Regions from separate parts of the Homo sapiens genome. Here region 2 is linked to region 1. Evidence: promoter capture Hi-C in human tissues and cell types (Jung and others, 2019). All regions are on one chromosome and are shown on one strand. The core of a region is centred on a gene start or on the middle of the fragment in contact, and the rest is flanking DNA. Distances in the headings are between cores, read along the strand shown. Region 1 holds the start of IL1RAPL1 (interleukin 1 receptor accessory protein like 1). Region 2 overlaps IL1RAPL1 (interleukin 1 receptor accessory protein like 1).

Region 1 (6,851 bases), core at 1,048-3,547:
GAACCACCAGGCTGAAATCTGCATCAAGCTCTACCAGGAAAAATGCAAGAAAGGACCCTAAATATTCATTCCGTTCACAGTCATCATTTCAATGAATTTAACTTTCCATTCAGTTGGGGTCATATATTTCAATCCTAGGGTAAAGAACTATGACCTTGGCTGGAATCATCAGTCCCAGTTACTCAATGGGGCACTTCTGAAACATCGCAGACTCATTTTGACTCTCCACGGGTGTGGCTAAAATTGGTCCTGTCCAGCCCTAAAGCTTATATGATCTGATGTCCCTCCGAAACTCACTATGAGAAAACTCATGCAAAATTTGCCATAGAGATCAAGGTTTACAGGACCCTTGGAGCTAATCTCTCTCTGCCCTCCTCCTCTGTTAGCTGTTACAAGCCTTCAAAAGTTAACAGGGTGATGGAGCCTCTCTCTATACAATCATCTCATCTCACTATCGTTGACTGAAACTCGCTGATGTAATGAAGTTACATAATCACCGATTATGCACGACTTCCATCCATCTTCCTACATATCCACATATCTTCTCCCCTCCCCTTTGGATCAATCTACCAGGTGAGATTTATAACATATGTAAATGCTCCACTCTCTCATCACAGGCACTGAATATGGAACTTTAGCATTGCAGTACAGTGCACTGAACCACGTCATCAATATTGATTTCTTTATCCCATTTCCCAGGCAGAATATGCTTAAACATCCTTAGTGTTCTAGTCTCTAACTTTTTACCGAAAGGGTAAAATAGATGTAGCAGACAGGACACATCTTCAACTTAAGGTTAGGGGAAGTATGTAATTAATTGCCTGCATTTCCCAAGCTGGCTGCATTGCAATAAAAGGACGGTCTCTGCTTTCAGACCTTCGACTCCCCTGCACGTGGGTCTCAGCTTCAGCTATTTAGGATATTGGGTAAATAATTATATTATTGGGCAATTGAACTTGAGAAAGAAAGCACTGTGGTGATATTTAAGATAATGTTGCCTTATTCTTCTCTATGTTAGCCATCATTTTTAGCTTTTTCTTTTCTTTTCCTTTTTTCACTCTGAGTGATAATCCAGTAGATAAAAAAGTAGCCCAGGGCGCTTAATAATCTCCAGTAACCACAACCTAGAGAACAATTAACGATGATTATCACCTTAAAGTTTAAGAACTTGACAAGTGGGATGTCCCTGGTCCCATTGCGGCTGTGAAATGCAGCAGAATGCTGCACTGAGTTGAAAACATATTTCTTTTAATGCATAGAGAGTAGCTCGTTTCATTTTAAATGGGGCTCTTCACTAAGTGTTTCTTTTACTGCTGCTACCCCTTCCAGAACGCAGGGGCCACAAATATTACATTCAAACAAAGAGTGTCTACCCAGAATTAATTCAAGACACTCTTCCATATCAAAATAATTGGGGGAGAGAGTGATACTTTGATTTTCAATTGCACTCAGAATACGGGCACACATACATATACACACACACGCACACACACATACACACACACACACACACACACACACACACACACACACACATATCAACACACCCAACTGCAGTTATTCCATTCAGTGCCAATAACGGCCACATCACAGCCATCAATGCGATGCAGCAATCATTCAAGTCACCCATTCCCATTACAAATGCCCAAGTTTGCTCATGCCACTGATGGGTTTGCATATATAAAATGACCTTACCCACAACAGTCTTCCAAATTATTCTCCTCTGGATATTAGTCGGTAAGGTAATTGCTGGTCATCACAATGCGTATTCAGAAAAATCCACGTTTTACTCCTGTGTTCTTTTTCTTGTTTTTGCTAGCAATTAATATTGTGAACAAGATTCCCATTCACAAATGCCAAGTTCACCATAAAAGCAGATAATTCCATACAGATCTTCCCTACAAGACTGTCTCCAGTTAGTTCTCAAAGTGCCCGATTGTTTGCTGAAGATACAATCCAGGTGCAGAGCAGGAAAAAAAAAAACAGACTAGGAGAAAAATGAAGAGGCAGATAGAAAAGGAGAGACTGAGAGAGGAGAGAGCAGAAAAAGAGAGGGGAAAATAAGAATAATTCTTAAAAAATAAGGAAGGAAAAAAGCCGATAAGTGAGAAGTCTGCGAGCTCTATGACAAGAATTGGAGTGTTGCTTGCAAATCTTCTGAGTACATGCAGCCTTTCAAATCCTCCTGGTCCCCAAGTAAAATTTCCAGATCCGGGATGCAGCCATAAGAAAGAATCCTATGTATATTTCACAAGTATCCCGCAATAACAGATCCGACGGGGTTTTCCTTGTACAGTACTGCTATGTGAAAGCACACAACCCCTGCTGTTTGGGAAGGTGTCTCCTGGGTCCTAGCTCTCCTCAGCAGCCCCCAAAAATGATTTTTCAAAAAAGAGTCGGGGGGGGGGGTGGGAAAAGCAGCTTTGCGTTTGCCTTGAATGATGCTAATCCTGAGCGAAAACCACAAGCAAAACACGAATAGCACGAGATCTTGATTAATAGCCACAATCCACTCAAAATATCCCAGGGAAGAAGGAGCGAAAACAAGAAAGAGAAACTGCAACGCATAAATGATTCCAGTGTTTCTACAAGATCGGTTCATTTGATTGAATGCATTCTCTGGTTTGCTGCAAGTCATAAAGAGGATAGTATTACTGCCACCCAATGGATATTTTAGTACTAGCCAATCCACAGACAGCCACCGCTTTGCGAGTTTGAGTTCTCAGAAGACCGAAGTGGAAGGAAGGTAGCCTGGGAATCTTTTGGAAAGGACCCTGGGAGGCTTCAAATAACGGAAATCTGTTCTTCCAGGCAAAAGCAGACTGGCAAATTTGGATGCTTATACAGTCTTGCCTTAGCCACCTTAGAATTATGGTTCCATTTCTCTAGGAAGCAGAAAGATACAGAGAGTGATGCCTAAGCCGACACACTCTTGATAACCTCCTTTTCATCTCTTCTCTTTGAAGCAGATTTATTATTGCGCGCGACCCTCCCACCCCCATCACTGTCTCCCCAACGCCCCCATTCTCCGTATCACTTTAAGATGGATTACAAGAGAGAAGGGGTGCGGGGGCTGCTCCAAACAAACCTCAGGTGCTAAGATGATAATTGTTTCTAAAGGGCAGTTTTGCAAAAGTGCCTCTGTCTGTATTGATATGCAAACTGTGAGTCCTTCAAGCAGTAACCCTCCTCACAGCCGCGCTTTCAGTTTGGGGGAGGAGCAAAATCTTCCCTAAGTGAGTGGGGCTTGGGAGAAGGGTGCCTGTGGAAGGCTCTCTGGGAGTGCGGGGTGGGGGTGGGGAGTGGGAGGAGGAGCGGAGGGGAGGGTATTGAAGAGGATCCTCCTCCCATCCACCGCGTAATTGAGTTCCCTGCAAAAGAGTTCGCTGCTGGTTTCTGAGATGAATTTGTGATGAAGAAAGAGGGTCAAAGTAGGTACGGGTAAATACATTAGGTTATTTGCTCAATTTAAGGTCCTTGACCATTTACATTGGGATAGTATAACACTCACATGTGATTCCGTGATTCTCAAACTTTGATGTACACACCGTCACCTGGGTGTCTTGTTAAAATGCAGATTCGGATTCGGTACATCTGGAGTGAGGCCTGAGACCCTGCGTTTCTAATAAGCTCGCCCGTGGCCCATAATAATGTTGCTGGGCTGTGGACCACATTTGGAGTAGCAAGACCCTTAAAAAATGTTAATGTTTACACTGCAGCAACAGTGTCAGTTTCCGGCAGCTGAGTAGGCTGGATGATTAAAAGGCAGCGAGCCGCTTTTCTAGTTACTTCTCTCCCTCTCCCCACCCTGCAACCTTTCCCATTCAACACCGGCAGCCCATGTACTTAAAAACCTTAACCCATTTTGTAATGTATCCCACAAGCTTTTGTAATGGCAGGCTTAACCGGATAAACCAAAAATAGAATAAATAGGTAAAGTAGCCTTGGCCCTTCAGAACTGTTTTAATTTGGGGAGTAAAACACGCATCAAGATAAAGAAAACACTTTAAAAATTAGGTAAAATGTGAGCTAAACGAATACAAACTAAGCGCGCAGGTGAGAATAACAGCAGGCAGGGAGACTAGACAGGGAGGTAAAACTGTATTTCGAAAAAAGGAGCAGTACACTGAAATTTCCAACCTAAGCAGAGGGAAAATGTGGTTAAAGTCGGTAGGCAAGTCTTACAAGGTTTCTTTGAAGCTAACTCACCCATGTTCACATCTTCTGTGCCAGTGTTTTTCTTCCCTCTGCTTCTTCCCCACATGCTATAATTCAGCCTAAACTGAAGATTAGAAGTGAAGAGGAAATATATTCCCCTCCTTTCAACGTGAGTGATCTAGATTTTCTATACCTTCCATCACAGTCCTCTAGTTGACCCAGTTGAATGTGAATAGACCTCAAGCAGACCTGGAGGGGGGCACAAGTAACAAGTGTAAATGTAATTGCTTCAAGCAAAATTTAAAAGTAAACGTCTTGACCGTAGGCTCCAATCCTAGATTTGAGTCTAAATTCTACTCCTAAGTAGCCATAATTACCCAAGGGAATCACTTTAATTTCTCTTGGCCTCAGTTTCCTTGTCTATAAAATGACAGGTTGAAATTAACCAGTTGCCAACGTGCTGTCCAGCTCCATATGGTACAAAAATCACGTCCTCTCTTTGAAATGTTCTGCAAGTCAGTTTGTTACTGTACACAGAGAAGGAGTTATGATTATTACCTTGACATGGGCTGCAGAGAGCATCTAGAAGCTTTGAAAAGCATCTCGAGGACACAGGTGAACATTTGACCACTTCAATCCTATTTCAAGAGATGATTTAAAGTGCTTTCATTTCAAATGAAATGATCAGATCCAGGAAAGGAAGTGTTTGTTTGAATCTGAGGTGAAGCATTGTCTATTCCTGGATCCTACAGAGCCAACTGTGGGCCTCGCTGTTTGTTGCCATGGGATCCTCTTTGTGCGAACTATCTTGAACTGTGTGGGAACATTTTCCTCTTGCCTCCCTTCAGTTCTCTAACTCTTCTGAAGATATGTGTCAGAACAAAATGTAGCTGCATTATTGCCAATTAAGACTAACGGCAGCTGCAAGGTGCATCTAATTAAGAATTTTAATTACTTCACTGAATTCTCATTTGCAGATGTTTAGAGCATTCAACAATGTATTGTGATTTTTATTTTAAAATCTGAATAAAGCTGACCTCCCTCCAAAGGAGGGTGGAAAACTACACAACCCAATGATGGATATTTTTAAAAAAGAGTCTTTGACATGGAAAGTATATACCTTGATATATCATTTGAGAATATGCGACATTATATTGAGGATGAGGAAATAGAGTGCATATCCATAAATATGCCTTTTTTACTAAAGGAAAAGGCAAGCAAATCACAAAATACTGGAAACAAATTGATAATTTACTATTCAAGTAGAATCCTTGCATGCTACATAGTTCTCAAATATTCTGTTCTTTTTCTTTCCAGTAATATGATGGTTAACTGTAGGTTTGGCACTGCAGTATGGGGATTGTAGGCTATAATGCAAAGCATTATGGGGTTTGTAGTAAAAACTGGCTGCAGATCAATTCCATGCTTCTAGCTTTTCTCAGTTGAAGAAACTGCTGTTTTATTTTCTAGTAATAAAGAAGAATGTCAAGATACTGTACATTAGATTCATTTTAATGAAACAAGGTTGGTATTAATGGGAGTATGAAATTAAAGGTTAGCTACAGAAATATTCTGACTTGGGAGATGGAGAATATAACCCCACTTTACAAACCCCAAAATAAACTGAGTGAGCTATTTCCTAATATTACTATCCTATAGTTAAGGTTTCAAAAATCACTTTCATTGTTTTAGTAGTAAAACGTGAGAAAATATCAAATTTGGTATTTACGAAAGAGAATGATCAACACCTGAAATGAACTCAAGTTCTTATTGATTCTGTCTTTAACTATTGGTAGTTGAAATTTAATTCTTCACATTTCACGTCATTGAAGGCTATAATAATAGTTTGCTTTAGCGCAGCTTTTTGTGGATGGAGGCTTCTTTAAAGAGAGAAAGAGAGCCTACTCAGCTGCCAGCCACTCAGTGAAGTGAACAAGAGTTTTATTTAATCTACCTTTTTAGATACTTTTTATATAAAATTACTCTGAATATTCAGAGTAGCTTCTCTTTTTAATAAAATCCTTAAGGCTAGAATATCCTTAAGGTTAGGAAATATGTCTGAATTGGGTTATTTTATTCAGTTTAAATTTAATTATGGAAATGTATAAATTAAGAAGTTATAATTCAGTTCATTTTTGTGTGCAGATGATTCTATGTAGATAAATACATAATTTACAGAGGTTTTGATTTAATTCTGTTGGCAGTTTATTTCAAAGTTCACTAAACATTTTCCATATGATATGAATTCAAAGTCTAGCTCCCCACAATGCTCTATGAAATCAGCCCCCCTTTTGTTTTGAAGGCTAAAATACGTCTCTTCAAAGCCTCTTCCATCTGTGAAAGTTTCGATTATCATGCTAAGTTACTTAGAAGGTATTTTATACCTGAGGTTGCTTCTTTTTCTCTTTCTCTCCTTAAAGAAGCCTCCATCCACAAAAAGCTGCGCTAAAGCAAACTATTATTATAGCCTTGAATAAATGCAAAATCAAGTACTCTTCATTTTCAGGCCTTTTGCCAGCAATATTCATTTGAACCCACCACCACATATTCTCAAATGAGGTACAGACAAAGACTTGAGCATTTCAGCAAAATTCCACCATAAAGTTCAGGAATAATAAAGAATGCTATGAAAAAGCAAACAGCAACAGGAAAGAAAAATGCCATGCCTGCTTTTCTTTCAGATTTCTAAGTTT
Region 2 (7,793 bases), core at 1,397-3,896, 640 kb before region 1:
TTAGAGGCTCTCAGAGACTCCTGCTACCAGAGGTCTCACATATACGCTACAGGGCCCTCATCACAGAAAGTTCAAATTCCAGCTTCAGTCACATGTATTGCCTGTGGGGGATCACTAATAAAATAGGTGGTTGAAGAATGACCTGACCTAGTTGTAGGTCACTTCTTATTAACAATTTATTATGAATCACTTCATCAAATTAACTTGTGGTCATTTCATGGTTTTAGAAAGAAACTTTGGTAGGCCTAGAGATCCAGGAGAGAATGGGATGTGGGCTTTCAAGTTTTCAGTAGTATAAACGATTGTAGGAAGGGATGGGGAGATGAAATAGGCTGACAAAAAGCGCTGGTTGCCTGAGAGACAACAAGGTTTTTTTTTTTTTTTTTTTTTTTTTTTTTTTGGTAAAGGGACCATAATGATAGAGCATCTACAGGGGTCACAATAAAGTGAGTGGACTTGGGCAAAGGTTTTGATACTGTGGGGAGCAGACGCCTGAGAATGCTGAAACCACATCACCTAATTAACAGTACTCATTTTTCTACAGAATTCAAAATAAACTTTCAAACAATATGAAGCTTCAGTATGCCCTAAAGCTCCTAATTTAATACTTCTATATAATACAGTCAACTCCAAATCCTTTTGCACATATTTTCTTGTTTTTAACAGCTGGCTTCATCCCATTTCTTTAATACAGACTTACAGTGTATAGACATGCTTTGAAATCCATAAATGAGGCTGTCTTTATTTGAAATGAAGGCCTATCCTCTCAAAGACATTATAGCCAATAACTTCACAACAAATCAATCTCATGCAGACTAACTAGGTGAGTTATATGTCCATTATAAATTTCTTGTGATGGGTTGAGTCATTTAGCACGAAGGCTAAAAGGCTTAGAGCAACAATACAATGTTATATTCAATGCCACGTCAGCCAGTGGCCATGGATGCTCAGTAAATAGCAGTGTGCTGTGACTGATCATGTATCACACAGTTTGCAAGTACTGAAGATATAATAAGCTAAGTCAAGAAACAAAGGGAGTTTGGATTGTTTTTCTTACATTAACATGAAATACCCCAGATCACTTTAATATATATTCTGAAAGCATAAGAAAGGGTGGCTAATTAAAAAATATATATTTGATAATTCAGAACATCTTCCTTAACAAGCAGAGCTGTTTTGTGCTGAGAAATTTATGCTGGCATTGCATGCGAGGCATAAACTTTCATGACAGCAGGCAGTGTGAACGGAACCAATCTGATTGAGAAACAGATCCAGAAATATCCAAAGGAGAATTACATAGCCACCTTTCTCTCCACACCTTCCATGAGATGAACTTTCAAGTTTCCTGTACAAAAAAGGAAAGTTGCTTTTCTTCTTTCCATAAAGTGGTATAGCAACTTTAGTGGTAGAAATACATTTGAGATAGAATGAATTATTCAAAAGCTTAGACAAATCACAGGTACTATTTTTCAAGGTACACTTTAGAGAGTTTTTTTTTTTTAAAAATTATCATACAGAATGGGTTAAGACCAATAATTTCTTTTATGAAAATTCAAAATGTAATTTTCTGCAGAAAATTTAAGGCTAAAGCAGAGTTTCCAACACTTTTCAATTTTGGAAATTAGCATCATAAGAAGAGAACAAAGACTGACATTGGGTTTCTAATTTTTTGTTTCACCAAAACAAAAATACAAACAATGAAAGGGAAACGATGCCAATGAAACAGTAGGCTAACTGAAATATAATAAAGAACACTTCTTTAAAAGGAGAAATTTAATTTTATGAAAAAATGTATTGTATGTTGCTTATTTTTCTCATTCTGCCTCAAACTCATGCATGCCCTATCTTCCCTGGAACTTGTCCTTGGATGGGCCTTTAGAAACCCAGAGTTGAATATATGTAACCTCACAGCTCTTACTAAAGAAGCCAGTAATTGCAGCCCACCTCTACTGGCCACCACCCACGCACATCCAGAGTGGGCTGAGAAGTGCCTTGGAGCAGAGCAGGAAAGAAGTCCTTGAAATTTGGTGATCTTCAGGCAAGGCAACAAGGCAGATAGGGAATACGGATGATAGTGAAACAAAACAAATTGCATCACAAAAACACAGGCAGCAAAAGCCAGTCCACGGAAGACTACAGAACAAACTATTTAGCTTCCTCAACACATATACTGTTTAAATAAAAGAAAAAGATAAAGGAAGAAACCTATAGATTAAAAGAAACTTAATAGATTTTAAAAATTAGGCAAAACTGGCCAGGTGCGGTGGCTCACGCCTGTAATCCCAGCACTTTGGGAGGACGAGGCGGGTGGATCAGGAGGTCAGGAGTTTGAGACCAGCCTGGCTAACATGGTGAAACCGCATCTCTACTAAAAATACAAAAATTAGCCAGGTGTGGTGGCACGCATCTGTAATCCCAGCTACTCGGGAGGCTGAGGGAGGAGAATCGTTTGAACCCAGAAGGCGGAGGTTGCAGTGAGCAGAGATCGCATCACTGCACTCCAGCCTGGGTAACAGGGTGAGACTCTGTCTCACACACACACACACACACACACACACACACACACACACACTAGGCAAAACTAAACTACAGTGTTTAGGGATGCATATTTGAGTGACAAAACTATGAAGAAAAGTAAGGATGCCATTCCAAAAAATAAAATCATCATAATGGTCACAGTTGTGTGTGTGTGTGTGTGTGTGTGTGTGTGTGTGTGTGTGTGTGTGCACGCGTGTGTCCGGAGATGGTTATAAGAAGGCACGTGGAAAGTTTCTGGAATGGCTCGCAAGGTTCTAGCTTCTGACATCAAGGATAGTAATAAAGGCATTTGCCTTCATTAGTAATAAGAGTGTTCATTACCTGTAAATTTGTTTTGTAAATATTTTCAGTATTTGTATTATTATCTATAAAAATAAAATATATTTTTTAAGTGAAGAGTTTGGAGTCAGACAACCTGGTTTAAACCAAAACTCTGGCACTTACAATTTATGTAAAATGGGGATGCTGACGATCTCTATAGTACCCATTAAACAATGTAATCATGAAGATGAATAGATGTAAAGGTTATAGAAACTATTTCCAGATAGGAAATCCTTCATGGGTTTTAGCTATTATTATAGGAAATGGTTCTCTGTCTAGGAAGTAAGCAGTGGTAGATGCAAAGTGCTGCAAATGTATGAAGGACTTAGCAATATTCTGCACCATAATTTATTTTTTATTCATATTTCAAATTAAATTATTCATTCCAGAGAGTGCTTATTTTATGTCAAAAAAGTGATACAAGTTTACAATGAAAATCAATGGGAAATGGAATTCTGTTGATTATTACTTTGCATCCAAATTTATTGGAACTCATCCATTTCATTAACCAAGGCAGATCAAAGAAGTAGCTCTATGTGTTAAAAAGGAGACTGTCAAATTAAAAAGTCTTAGTCTGATTGAACCTCTCCTGATTGCAAATTAAAATATTAGGGATTTTTTGTTTGAATTCTTAAATTTAGATTAGGCTTTGAAAGGATTAAAAACTTCATTCATGAAAAGCTGGTCTTTAAAAACAATAACATTCAACAACTTTCCTTTTTAGCTTTTTTTTTTTGAAAAGGAGGCAAAGCTTTCTTAATACTACTAATTAATTATTATTCTTTAGTTTTAATTAATCATTGTGTTTTTTGACCTTTGGATTGTGTTACCATTATACACTGCTAGTTTTAGCAATTTTTAAAGCTCATTTTTTGGGTTCATTTCAGATCTATTTTCTATGCCAAATATGCTAATGATTGCATTTTAGAATGTTGATTATTCTAATAAAAACACTCTAAATTACCACATTAAATTTAATAGGATAAAAGCCAGTGTCCACGCAGGTGATTCAAATGTCTTGAAACTCCTATGACTAACATTAAAAAAAAAAAAATCTTCCATTCCTATGCAATTAGGAATATTAGTTTATAATAATGTTCTTTGGAGAATTCAATTTGTTTTAAGTCCCTGGAATGTTATTATTTTGTCTTTAATGATTTGCTACAGTTTTGGCATATCCATTCTATTTTAGCTCATTATTTGAGAACTTTATCAGGTAATAAGTATTTGTAGTATTAAATTGCATTTTTTGCACTGTCACTGACCAAAATTGATTACAGTTTTTTTTTCATCTGTTAAAAATGGACGAATCAGCCAGTACAGTGGCTCACGCCTGTAATCCCTGCACTTTGGGAGGCCGAGGCATGTGGATCGTCTGAGGTCAGGAGTTCAAGACCAGCCTGGCCAACGTGATGAAACCCCGTCTCTACTAAAAATACAAAAAAAATTAGCCAGATGTGGTGGCGGGCACTGTAATCCCAGCTACTCGGGAGGCTAAGGAAGGAAAATTGCTTGAACCCAGGAGGCGGAGGTTGCAGTGAGCCGAGATTGTGCCACTGCATTCCAAGAGCAAAACACCATTTCAAAAAAAAAAAAAAAAAGAAAGAAAGAAAAAAATGATGAAGCAACCTGTTTGCTAGGGGCTTAATGAGAATAATTAAAACAAAATACAACTGTGGAACATCATTATAACACTACTTTTCTCATAGTGAAATAAGTTAAACATCAAATGTGTCCTGAATTCTGGGACATAACTTATTCCAAATTTCATCTCATCAGGAGAGACTCAGATGTTCTGAGTAGGCCTCTAGAAGTATGAAAAGATATCATTCTATAAATATTGTACACAACAACTTTTATTATCCATCTAGACAGACAATGGTATTGACCATTTCAAATACACACTTCTATATACAGTACACTGTATAAGCTAGAAAATGCGTTAACATGAATCATCAATATGGAATCTTTCCTATCAGTGTAACAGTGCAGACCTGTGGTTTGCAGACCAATGGCATTGACACCACCTGGGAGTTTGTAGAAATACTGACTGACCACAATGGCCTTAATGGTCCCCCCCTCCCAACTTTAGACAAGCTTCTTTCTGACTATAGATAGGCCTATTACCTCCTTTTTTGTAGAGCGATTACTTTGGAAAATTTGCAATTGTAAATTCCTTCTCTGCCCCTTTCAGATGTAAACCTTCTACAACCTAGGAAATTCTTTCTCAAGGACCTGGGCGCCAATCCTTTGAAATGTAATCATCAAGAAAGATAGGGCCCTACTTCCCAGTCTCTATAGGAGTGTAGGAGCCTAACTTTGATAAGGTACCATTAGCAAACACAGGTGGCCTAATCATATTAACCAGCCCAATCACATTCTCCATCCTGCCTATGTCCTCCAGTACTTTTCCATTAGCTCACCCCAGCATTTAAAAATCCTTTCACCTTTTGCTTCAGTGGAAGAGTTGAGATGAAACTCTCTCCTATTACAACAGTCCTCAATAAAGTCTACTTTACCTGTTTAACCGATCTGTTCAATTTTTCTTTTACAAGACTCTCAGCCTCATGTCTGAATCCGAATTTGCAGTTTAACAAGATCCTCAGGTGTTTCCAGTGCCCAGTAAAGGTTGTGATGCACTGCTTTGGACAATAATATTGATCACTCTCTGCTGGTACTTAATAGTGCACAGGTCAAGATAAAACAGACTTGGAACGTGGAACATTACAATGTTAGATAAGCACGGATGTCTAACATGGAAATGTCAGATAAGCACCAGCTAGTTTAATGACATAATAATAAAAATATTCCTATTTCAATTATTTGAGTATTTCTTATTGTCTTTAAGTGCTCTTTCTGGGTATGTTCTAAAATACTCTGTGCTCCATTTGTCACTTACTGTTTTCAGTTGAAAAATTAAGTCAATGCTTTAAAGAAGACAAGCATGAAAGAATCTGTCCTGCCAGCAATGGAGAGCATAACACTAAGGATGCACCACTACAACTACACAACCTGTGTCTACTAGGTGCTGAAGTCACTGTGTTGGCTAACCACAAAGGAGGCAGAATCGATTTTGGTCATGCAGGCAACAATCACACCATTCTGATTTTCTGTGTGAGGGCATATGCAATGATTATTTTAAAATAAATCACATAGGGGTCTCTCATTTTCTCATAAAAAAGTTTTAACTTTAATATTCAGTCATTTTTATGTTGTTTAGCATATGATAACTTGCCTTTACAGTAGACTAAAAATGCTCTTTAGTTATAAATAAACAATAAAACTAAGACATTTAAAGTTCCCTAACAGCTCACATTTGTTCTATGACTAAGCCCAAAAAATGTCATAGCAGAATAATACTTTTTGAAATGTTACAAAAAAGTGAAAGTAAACATGATACAACTATATATTCAAATGTATTTTTTATATGATAGGCAAAATTTACCGCATTGAGGATGCTGTTGCCTGAGATGATGATGATGATTACTATTATTATAAAGGAATAGATAGAAAGAGAGAACAAGAGTCTTCATTATTCTTATCTGAATAAAAACTATACAAACAAGTGCAACCCAATACTCAAGCAACTTTTGTCTACTTTTGGAGAATTAGATCTTAAGCTATAAGATTTTGAGGGCCAGGACAAAAGTCATCTTTTTTTTTTTACTTTTCCATCACATAGCCAGTCTGAATGTTTGTACACATAGGCTAAAATAAATGCTTGGAGCCGGTAGTCAGAAAGTAAGTCTCTAAAATTTAAACCTAGTGACTTTGGAAATGTTAATACTGACAACATAGCATGAGTTTAAAGAGTACCACCTTACTAAATGCTAAAGGTGTTCTCAAAATTACCATCTGAAATTCTGTCCGTATCTCGGGGCTTTGTTTCATTTCAATTTAATTAGATGCATATTAATTTAGTCCCTACTGAATCAGTCTGGGAGGTTATCATTCTGAAACAAAACCTGTTCTAATGGTGTAAACATTTTACATGGAAAACAAGTGAACAATAATATGCAAGGTATTACAATATAGTCCTGAGGATCTTAACATTGTGTGTGCGTACAGGAGAGAGAGATGGACTCCTTTGGCATTTGGTGATTATGGATGCCTTTCTGGAATGTTTATATATGCACAAAATAAAACTTCATTGAATTATGATGAAAACCAGTTATATTGAAAGGCAATAATCAAAACATAATAGGCTGGGTGCAGTGGCTCACACTTGTAATCCCAGCGCTTTGGGAGGACGAGGCGGGTGGATCATGAGGTCAGGAGATCGAGACCAGCCTGACCAACATGATGAAACCCCATCTCTACTAAAAATACAAAAATTAGCCGGGTGCGGTGGCATGCACCTGTAACCCCACCTACTCAGGAGGCTAAGGCAGGAAAATCTCTTGAACCGGGGAGGCGGAAGTTGCAGTGAGCCGAGATCGCACCATTGCACTCCAGCCTGGGTGACAGAGTGAGACTCCATCTCAAAAAAAAAAAAAAAGTAATAAAATGAATTTGCAATATAGTAACATGTAATTCTTTATTGACACTTACATGACAGGAGATAGTGGCAGGCCTAATTTTGGAGTGACAATGAATGCAAATAATATCTGAGAAACCTACAAAAACCATAATATAATAAGAAAATATTTGTAACTTCAAGTGATAAAGTAACAGTTTCTTTCAATAGCCACTAATTAGTGTGGCTAGTATTTCCAAATGAAGCAAATACTAAATTTCAGTTAGACATAAATGAAAATAGACACACATATGTGTATGTGTGTGCATACACGTATTTTTCCTATAGAGTCCAAAGGGGCAAAATGATGAAAAACCTTGTAAGTCTTTTAAAGTATGCTGACATTACCTCAAGGGCAAAGAGAATGTACCATTTTTTTTTAAAACTTCAGGATACTTATCAACTTTACCTTTATGAA

What was found. The method cuts DNA at HindIII sites, captures the fragments that hold promoters and counts their contacts. A contact is called where the count stands out against the background at its distance.
Region 2: a contact is called between a fragment that was not itself captured here and the fragment with the promoter of IL1RAPL1 in region 1, in 1 of the 25 tissues and cell types used here (hippocampus).

What each region holds. Positions count from the first base shown.
Region 1 is chrX:28,582,892-28,589,742 of GRCh38, reverse strand. IL1RAPL1 (interleukin 1 receptor accessory protein like 1) reads right to left here and starts at 2,297. Exons shown (of 11, transcript NM_014271.4): 1 at 1,696-2,297. The HindIII fragment of the contact is 4,831 bases long and covers 1-4,316 here.
Region 2 is chrX:29,223,112-29,230,904 of GRCh38, reverse strand. All of the region lies in intron 2 of IL1RAPL1 (interleukin 1 receptor accessory protein like 1), which reads right to left. Among named protein-coding and RNA genes, the nearest start is that of MIR4666B, 350 kb to the left of the region's middle. RefSeq lists an enhancer at 4,603-5,476. The HindIII fragment of the contact is 3,274 bases long and covers 1,010-4,283 here.